2 separate regions of the Homo sapiens genome follow, and region 1 is linked to region 2. The links are contacts of gene promoters, found by promoter capture Hi-C in human tissues and cell types (Jung and others, 2019). All regions are on one chromosome and are shown on one strand. The core of a region is centred on a gene start or on the middle of the fragment in contact, and the rest is flanking DNA. Distances in the headings are between cores, read along the strand shown.

What was found. The method cuts DNA at HindIII sites, captures the fragments that hold promoters and counts their contacts. A contact is called where the count stands out against the background at its distance.
Region 1: a contact is called between a fragment that was not itself captured here and the fragment with the promoter of ZBP1 in region 2, in 1 of the 25 tissues and cell types used here (spleen).

The regions. Positions count from the first base shown.
Region 1 is chr20:56,396,987-56,402,299 of GRCh38, forward strand. It overlaps CSTF1 (cleavage stimulation factor subunit 1), which reads left to right. Exons shown (of 6, transcript NM_001324.3): 3 at 221-498; 4 at 658-855; 5 at 1,981-2,371. Among named protein-coding and RNA genes, the nearest start is that of CSTF1, 7.0 kb to the left of the region's middle. The HindIII fragment of the contact is 6,245 bases long and covers 542-5,313 here.
Region 2 is chr20:57,618,336-57,623,046 of GRCh38, forward strand. ZBP1 (Z-DNA binding protein 1) reads right to left here and starts at 2,091. Exons shown (of 8, transcript NM_030776.3): 1 at 1,927-2,091. The coding sequence starts at 1,960. RefSeq lists enhancers at 1-503, 681-790, 1,871-1,920, 2,051-2,340. The HindIII fragment of the contact is 12,502 bases long and covers 1-4,711 here.

The sequences.
Region 1 (5,313 bases), core at 2,414-4,913, 1.2 Mb before region 2:
AGCCTAACCTTCCAGCAACCCATGTGGCCTCACAGCGTGGTGAACTTTGAATAGCATGGGCAAAATACACAGTTTTGTAAAGTGTTAGGTGTCACGCGGCTCCAAGAAATAGGAGGTTGACACTGGTGAGCATCTTTCCAGTTTGGATCTAGAATTTTATCTTGGCCTTTTTAAGAAAAAACACTTGTTTTGTTACGCCCTTAATTTTGATTTCTTTCAGGAATGGAAAACGATGACACCGCAGTTCAGTATGCAATTGGTCGTTCAGATACTGTTGCCCCTGGCACAGGGATTGACCTGGAATTTGATGCAGATGTTCAGACTATGTCCCCAGAGGCTTCTGAGTACGAAACATGCTATGTCACATCACATAAAGGACCATGCCGTGTAGCTACCTATAGTAGAGATGGACAGTTAATAGCTACTGGGTCTGCTGATGCTTCGATAAAGATACTTGACACAGAGAGGATGTTGGCCAAAAGTGCCATGCCAATAGAGGTAAAAATTCCAGTCACATACTTATTGATTGCCTTCTGTTTTTCATTTTTGGAAAAATGAGAGTATGGTTGAAACCAGCTTTAGTTTGCTACAGTTGTGGATTGTGCACTTGGATTCAGACACATTCTGTGCCTTGAGCATCTCTTCTTGTTGGTCTAGGTCATGATGAATGAGACCGCACAACAAAATATGGAAAACCACCCAGTGATTCGAACTCTTTATGACCATGTGGATGAAGTCACGTGCCTTGCTTTCCACCCAACAGAACAGATCCTGGCTTCTGGTTCAAGGGATTATACTCTTAAATTATTTGATTATTCCAAACCATCAGCAAAAAGAGCCTTCAAATACATTCAGGTAGGAATCTTTAGAAAGGAGCTTTACATTTTTTCTTAAATACAATGAGCTATTGTACAACTATTCTCTTTTTAAAAGTAGTCTCAGTGATCATCCTGTAAGATGCGTACAGACCAGGATGCATGCCCGATGGCACATGGATCAGATTTTGTTGGCACATAGATCACATGCTATCATGTACCTGCTCCCTCTGGCTGGTCAGAGTTTATAATCTGACCCTTTGGAGGGTTTGGAATCCATATCACTCTCTAAAGGTTGTAGATCCCTGTTATAAACAAAACACGACCAGCTTCACTAATATATAACTTAGAGGAATAAAAAAAAAGTTCATTTGAAAGTATTAAGTATTTCCTGGCAAGGTGACATTCGGTACCCTATTTTGAATATGCATTGCAGAAATACTAATGTTTTAGTTGTGGCTTCTGTCTGTTTGATAATTAAACTAGGCTGGTTGCAGTGGCTCATGTCTGTAATCCCAGCACTTTGAGAAGCCAAAGTGGGAGGATCACTTGAGCCCAGAAGTTTATGGTCAGCCTGAGCAATGTAGTGAGACCTCATCTCTACAAAAAATTCTTTTAATCAGCTGGGCATGGTGGCACGCGCCGATAGTCCCAGCTACTCAGGAGGCGGAGGCAAGGATGATCATTTGAGCCCAAGAGGTTGAGCCTGCAGTGAGCTGTGACCATGCCGCTGCACTCCAGCCTGGGCGACAGAGCAAGACCCTGTCTGAAAAAAATAATAATAAACTTAATTTTTCACTCAATATTTGCAGCCCTAGAGCAAATTAAAGAAGCTCTTAGGTACAAGTTGTACTTCAGTTAACCATGCATGAATGTGTCATTGTCTGATAATACTCCATCCTTAGTTTACTCAGTGTTCATTTGTAAATAATGAAGCTCACTTCTGTAGTTTTTGGAATAATATAACCAGTAAATATTTAGTTTTGGAAATCTATTCAAAAAATACTTTCATATGTTCCAGAAAGCACTTTTTTTCTTATGATACCTGTGTAATATCTAATAATTGTTTTATAGATTCTTTTCATCAGCCAGATATTTTCCACATTTCCTCTGGATTTAATTGTTCACCAGTTGGTCACTTGTATTAATGTCTCTGTCCCAACAGGAAGCTGAAATGTTACGTTCCATCTCTTTTCATCCTTCTGGAGACTTTATACTTGTCGGAACTCAGCATCCTACTCTTCGCCTTTATGATATCAACACCTTTCAATGTTTTGTCTCTTGCAATCCTCAAGATCAACACACCGATGCTATATGTTCCGTTAATTACAATTCTAGTGCCAATATGTACGTAACTGGAAGCAAGGACGGCTGCATCAAATTATGGGATGGTGTTTCAAATCGATGCATCACAACTTTTGAGAAAGCACATGACGGTGCTGAAGTTTGTTCTGCCATTTTTTCCAAAAATTCTAAATACATTCTCTCAAGTGGAAAAGACTCTGTAGCTAAACTTTGGGAAATATCAACGGGACGAACACTGGTCAGATACACGGGTATGTGAGACGTTGATGTTACTTAACATTTCTGTAGTGTTTACACTTTCCAGAACTCTCTTTTAAGACCTCACAATAGAGCAACACAATATCTATGCATTGAGCAAGGCAGATGTTACCCTTTCTTAGATAAGAGGAAACCAAGACTTACAGGTTAAGTCATTTAGCCAAGGCTACACGACTTGGAAATAGAACGGTGCTTTCTTTGCTCTTCTGAGCACCTCACACCGTGGACTAGGGCTGGATTCCATGCAAGTAACATTTGAGAACCTGGTGATCCATTTGTAGACTGGCATGCCCTCTTCCCACAGAAATGTGAAAGCAATCCAGAGAAAAGTTTCCAATAGTAGATCTCAGTATTATTAATATATGTATTCATGAAAGAATGGCTGAGAGGGAAGATCTTATCCCATTCCTAAGAGAGCAGACCTAGCCCGCAAAGGAAACCACGTTAATTCTGAATGCAGATATAAAGTAGGCTCAGCAGACAGAAAAAAATTGCATCCACTGAATTCTCATTTATGTATGTTGGTCTCATTGGTAACAGTAGTGCCTGTGGAGTCTTTTTATAATGAAATCCATTTAAATTTATCCTATCACTAGTAGGGCCCAAGTCTGGTTATTTGATAATGAATGTTAAAACACTGTCTTCTGTTCCTTGTAGCAGCAAAGACTGTTGTTTGGTAGAAAACCTCCAGAAAATTTCTGATTGTTTCTTCCATTGTGAGATATGTTTGTATCATACACTAAAATTGGCATGAGCATAACTCAAAAAAAATCACAAGAAAACAGTATTGGAAGGGACTGGATTGTGTTTAAGTTTGCATTGAAGAGTCAGTGACATCTGACCCACTAGGGGGCAGCATAACTTGCCTTAGATTTGTCTCATTGTAACCAAAGTTCCCTTCCCCAGCCATCTTTCTGGCTTCTGGTACCACTAGCAAATCTTAGGAAGAGCCATTTTTATCATAATTCTTGGTGACTTCATTGAAACACTTGTATAAAGTTGTTCTGAAAAGTATTTATTATAAAGAACTACTTTATAATAGTTGTGTTTGTTGCAAAAAGAAGATAAAAAAGTGATCAGGGTAAATGTGAAAGTACTCCCCCTATAGAAGTTATAACTGTTTTAAGGAGTGTGCTGTATCTGGACAGATACACACCAGCCTACTGACAATAGCTTATATATTTGCTCTAGGAATGTTTTGGGTGTTTTATAATAGTATGAGGTTGATTGGCTTGTTTTAGTGGGGAATAGCAGTGTGGTTTTTCAAAAATGTGATTATGCTGAATTTATGCACAGATTCCCCTTTTCCTTTTTTCTCATTTCACAGGTCAAGCGCCTGTCATGTCAGCATGTTAAGATTTCTGTTCCCAGTTTTAATAATTAGTTAGAATTTGGGCCAGGCGCGGTGGCTCACACCTGTAATCCCAGCACTTTGGGAGGCCGAGGTGGGCAGATCACAAGGTCAGGAGTTTGAGACCAGCCTGGCCAATATGGTGAAACCCCGTCTCTATGAAAAATACAAAAATTAGCTGGGCTTGGTGGCGGGCGCCTGTAGTCCCAGCTACTTGGGAGGCTGAGGCAGGAGAATAGCTTGAACCTGGGAGGTGGAGGTTGCAGTGAGCCGAGATTGCGCTGCTGTACTCCAGCCTGGGCGACAGAGTAAGACTCCGTCTCAAAAAATGATAATAATAATAATTAGTTAGAATTCAGAGGGTTTTTGAAATGATGAAAAAGGAAAAACTATCAAAACTTTAGAAATTGGGATGCAAAAAATTAAAAACAATATAAATAACATACAGGACTGGGAGAAAATGGTTATAGCATATATACAGATGTTAGACATTGAGTTAACATCCTTAATCTATAAAGAGAACTCATATGGGAAAAAGATGAGTCCAAACTCGAGAAAAAAGGAGCCAAAGGACAGGGGGCTGCAGAAGAGAAAAATGGTCAGGAAATGTAAGAAAAGGTGGCCAGCCTTGCTGCAGACCCAAGAAATGAATATGGGGACCTGGTTTTGTTAATCAGATTTCAGGAGTCTTAAAGATTTATATTATCTACTATTGATAGAGATTTCGGGAAATCATATTTTGTTGGTCAGAGTCAGCTGGTAAAATATTTCAGCACAGTTTGGTGTCATATCAAAATTTTAAATACACGCTTTTTGACCCACTATATCTACTCTTAGAAATTCAACCTAAAGAGGTAATTGGACAGACATGCACATGCCCATAAAAGGATGTGTGTCCCAACATCATTTGGAGTGGCTGAAAGTTAGAAACAGCATAAATGTCCAATAAGAAGCACTGAGGAAATCTGTTACGCATCCATGGACAACATACACCTTTAAAAATAAGTATGCATGCTAACATGGGCTGAGCACTCGCACTCCAGAGCCTCCTTTGCATTCTCTTATTCTTAATCCTCACAGCCTTATGGGGTAGGTTCTGTAACTACTCCATGGAACAGATGAGAAAATTAAGGCTGAGGAATGTTAAGTAATTTGCCCAGGGTCACATTAGTGTTGAACCCACATCTGACCACACAGACTTTGTGTTTTTATCCACTAAGCTGTATTCTGTCTTTACAGATCTGCACTACATATGCTTGAATATTAATAGTATATGACAAATGCTCTGACTTAAAGAAGTTACAAATGAAGCCAGGGACTGTGGCTCACACCTATTATCCCAGCACTTTGGGAGGCCAAGGTGGGCAGATCATCTGAGGTCAGGAGTTTGAGACCAGCCTGGCCAACATGGTGAAACCCCATCTCTACTAAAAATACAAAAATTAGTTGAGTGTGGTGGCACATGCCTGTAATCCCAGCTACTCAGGAGGCTGAGGCAGGAGAATCTCTTGAACCCAGGAGGCAGAGGTTGCAGTGAGCCGAGATCACACCATTGCACTCCAGCCTGGGCAACAGAGTAAGACT
Region 2 (4,711 bases), core at 841-3,340:
CCTGTTCAGAGGATTCTCCAGGTTTGCCCAGGGTTCCTTGGTCACAGCACTTGTAGGGGAGGGAAGAATCAGTTTGTGCCTCACCCTGATGGTTACAACGCTGACCGGCTTGCCGTGTGCAGGTGAAGACCAATTAGAAGACCTGGGAATTCCCACTCCTGCGCCCACCAAACTCCCCCACCGGCAGCCAGCAGCACCTCCATGCACCTGACTTCACACCTGGCTTCACCTTGTCTCGCAGAGTTTTTTGTTTTTTGGTTTTGAGATGGAATTTCGTTCTTGTTGCCTGGTCTGCGGCTGCAGTGGTGTGATCTCGGCTCACTGCAACCTCCACCTCCTGGGTTCAAGCAATTCTCTTGCCTCAGTCTCTCAAGTAGCTGAGATTACAGGCACGCACCACTACACCCGGCTGATTTTTGTATTTTTAGTAGAGACAGGGTTTCCCTTTTTGGCCAGGCTGGTGTCAAACTCCTGACCTTGGGTGATCCCCGCAACTCAGCCTCCCAAAGTGCTGGGATTGCAGGCGTGAGCCACTGCGCCTGGCCGCAGTTTTGATTCTGGAAGGCTGACCTTAGGGAGCCACTGCCTCGGCTCCACACACCCCAGAGGAGATGGGGGTCAGAGGTGTGGATGCAGGACAAGCACTGGCCCTGGGCTGGCCTCGACTGCTGAGTCCCAGGCTACTGTGTCTGAAAATGGGAAATTGTAAAATGGAGCAGGTGTAGGCAACAATTTGGTCACAAAAGGAAAATCAACTGGGGAGGAAGACAAGAAAAGCCAGCGAGGGCTGAGTCCGGAACCTGCGTCAGCACCCGTGAGTCCCCGAAGAGGAAGCTCCACAGGACCTCCGCGGTCAGCCCGGCTCCTGGGCCACACCCTGACATTAGCCCTCCCGGGGCACACTCTGTGTTGGTTTTTTAAAATTCTGATGGCTGATTTCCTGGGTTTGAGCTCCTAGCCCTGCCAACTACTAGCTGTGTGACCTCCCCTCCGGCTTCAGGTTCCTCTTCTGTGAAATGGAGACAGTAATAACTACTTCAAAGATTGTGGTGAGGATTAAAAACAAAACAAACACATCCCCCAAACCGCAAAACCACACTTCACCTACAGTCCACAGCGCTTAGTGGAGACCCTAGAGAACAGCAATTACTCGATACACTATTGGCTTTCATTGCAACTCTTCCAGGAATAAAATGAATGAAATGTTAGTTGAGGAAAGGATGCAACAAGGGGGAACAAAGGCACACATGTATCTCATCAAAGCAAACCGCTTTGTTCTCGATATGACTGTGACATGGGTGTTCAGACGCTAACACCAGCGTTCGCCAGCTGTGTTACCCTGAGAGTGTCATTTCACCTCTCAGGGCCTCAGTTATCTATAAAATGGGAATGACATGGCACTTGTCCCTGCAGGCCATCAGGAAATGCTTGGAAAGCATGTTTCGAGGTGCCTGGGGCACAGTCAGCTGTCAAAGGGGGATGGCTATGCTGTCCCTTTCTATTTTTTTTTTTTTTTTCTGAGATGGAATCTCACTCTGTCACCCAGTCTGGAGTGCAATGGCGACATCTCAGCTCACTACAACTTCCACCTCCCGGGTTCAAGCGATTCTCCAGCCTCAGCATCCCGAGTAGCTGGGATCACAGGCATGCGCCACCATGCCCGGTTAATTTTTGTAATTTTAGTAGAGATGGGGTTTCGCCATGTTGGCCAGGCTAGTGTCAAACTCCTGAGCTTAAACAGTCCACCTACCTCGCCTCCCAAAGTGCTGGGATTACAGGCGTGAGCCACCACGCCCAGCTGGTCTACTATTCTTTAGGATACTGCTATTGTCATCATGATCTGGACCAAGCGAAACAGGAGGAAAGAGAAGTAGAAATCTCACCCCGGGAGCTACCGCTGGTCCTTGGAAGGAAGAAGTACTGTACCTTCTCTGCCCGGGTCAGCAGGAGCCTGGGCCATGCTGACAGCAGCTGCAAGGAGTCGGAGAGACTTGGCAGGTGTGCAGGCTTCTGCACTGTGGCCCTGAGAGGGTGGGCTAGGTCGAGGCTGGGGCTTCTGAAGTGGCCGAGCCTGGTGCTTCTTGCAGCTCTGAACCCACAAGGGGAGGGATGCCAGCTTCCACTGGGCAGGTGTCAGCTGCTTACAGCCCGGAAATAGATGCCTAGCCAGGCCGGCCAGATTCGGTTTCAGGAGAAAAAGAAAATGAAACTTCTCTGTTCGTCTTTTGAAAGAAAAAAAAAGTGGAAGCCAGGTGGATGAGCAAGACAGAGTTGGGGACCTGACTTGATGTTGACAGGGAGGAGCTGTAAACTTGGCAAGACCAGAGCGTCCTCCGAAGAGGCCTTTGAGACAGAGGACTTCCCTCACCTTCCCCGTTCCAGGCACAGCCCACCTGGACCTCTACATTTTTATTTTCTGAATCAGCATCAGAGAACTGAAGAAAATAAAAATAAAAAAAAGAGCATGCACCACGTGGAGGGGGATGCCAGGGCGTGGCATCACTCTGATGATGTGAGGGGCTGGGGCTGGTTATCTGGTTTCTGTGTTTTTGTTTGTTTTTGAGACAGGGTTTCTGTCATCCAGGCTGGAGTGCAGTGGCGTGATCACGGCTCACGGCAGCCTCGACCTTCCGGACTCCAGCGATCCTCCCACCTCTCAGCCTCCCTAGTAGCTGGGACCACAGGCCTAGACCACCATGCCCGGCTAATTTTTGTATTTTCTGTAGAGATGGGGTTTCATCGTGTTGCCCAGGCTGGTCTCAAACTCCTGGGCTCAAGCGATCTGCCTGCCTTGGCCTCCCACAGTGCTGGGATTCCAGCCGCAAGCCCCCACGCCCGGCCCCGCTGGTTCCTGTAGTACTTCCTCCTCGGGGACTCACAGGTGCTACAGAGGCACCGTCCCCAGCTCTCAGTGGCTTTTCTTGTCTTCTTCCAGTTTGTTTCCCTTGCCCACACTAGGGGCAGAACATTTAGGTGCGTGAAGGCCCTGAGATTGTTCTTGTGTGTATCCATGTGAGCCTCTTTAATGAACACCTATTATGCGTTTTCCAATCTCAAGTGCTCCTCCAACCCATCTACAGGGTAGGGGCCAGTTCTGTCTTCTTCTCAGGGGGGAAACTGAGGCTAGAAAGGCAAGATCACTTGTCCAAGGCCACACAGAGTCCATGACAGAGCTTGTCCTGTCCATTCCCCAATTGTGTTTCCTGATCTATAACACCCAGAAGTCACTGGTGAATCACCCTTAGTGCACAGATGGCGTGGAGTTCCCCGCCTCATCATAAAACTTGCTTATTAATTCCAGAGTCAGATGCCTGGGGTCAGCAGCCGAGTGGTTCGGAATGCAAGCCTGGGTCAGCATGCTTGGGTCCAAACCTGGCTCCGCCATTTACCGGCTGTGTGACCTCGGACAAATTATTTAACCCCTCTGTGCCTCAGTTTCCCCATGTGTAAAAGGACTTAATCAAAGGACCTAGCGCATGGGGTCGAGGTGAGGACCTAAGGGGCTGATACAGCCCAGCTGTCGGGCTAGAGCCCCAGAGCCATCCGTAGTCACGGGCACCGTGGTCACCTCACAGGAATGCTTCTGGGAGAGGACCCGTTGCTTACATAATTCTCAAAAGGGCCAGTGACCTCAGAAAAACTCAGAGCCACTGTTCTCTTCCAGATCACAGAAGGAGGAACTGAGGCCCACAGAGGTGAATGCTGTGTACAAGGCCCCCCAGCTTTTGGCAGCCAAGGGGGTTGAGAGCTCAGCCCTGGAAGTCCCTGGACTTGGGGTCTGTGTCTCATCTGCAGAGGGCTGGGAGGGCTAGAGACGTCTGTGCTCCTTGCAGACCCCATTTATGCATAAGGAGCAGCTTAGCGGCAAATACAAATGGAAAGGGGGTCCGGAGGTTTATCCTGAAGCTATCTGTCTTTGCAGAGCGAGCACCTGGAGCCCAGGTCTTCCGCCCTGCCTGCATGTTAAGTGTTTGAAGCAAAAAAAAAGTCTCAATGCCCAGGCCGGCCCAGACTAGTCAACTCCAACCTCTGCGGCTGGGGCCCGAGGGTGAGATTTTTTATGCTCCTGGGTGACTTTTCCTGCTTCCAGGTGGAGAACCAGTAAGTCTGGGGCAAGTCAATAACAGCAAACTGCAGGATGCTTTTATTCTCCTTTTATGTAAAAGCGAAAACTGCAGGTATCACCCTATGAAATAACAATAGTGCTCTTTAAATGGGGGGGTAGGTGGGGTGCTGAGGGAGATGATGAAGGTGCCCTCCGGAAGGGGCTCCGGCTGAGCCCTGCAAGGCTGAGTCCCTTGGGTGTCTGGGGTGCCACGCCCGAACTGGCCACCAGGTGATGCCGCTCACCAACCTGGGCTTGGGCGCACCTTGGCTTCAAGTTCCCTCTGATCTGCAGGGAGGAGCTCCTACCCCAACCCATGGTTGGACTCCAGACTTGATGAATCACAGCTCCAAGACGTGCCCACCCCTCCCACTGCCTTGTCCTGCATCATCCTTTATTCTTCCTGTCTCTTCAGTCACTCATCGTGGTTTCTTCACTCATCTTTCCTGGAAGGAGTCAGATTCCAGCTGTTTCTCTGTGAAGCCTCCAGGCAGTTCTTTGTGCTCTTCCGGCCTGGCCTCCCAGTGTTGGTCTTGACACAGCCCACCACTCCCCCGTGGGGAAACTCTCTCTCCCCCCATCTCCAGGGCCCATGCTAGCTTCTCC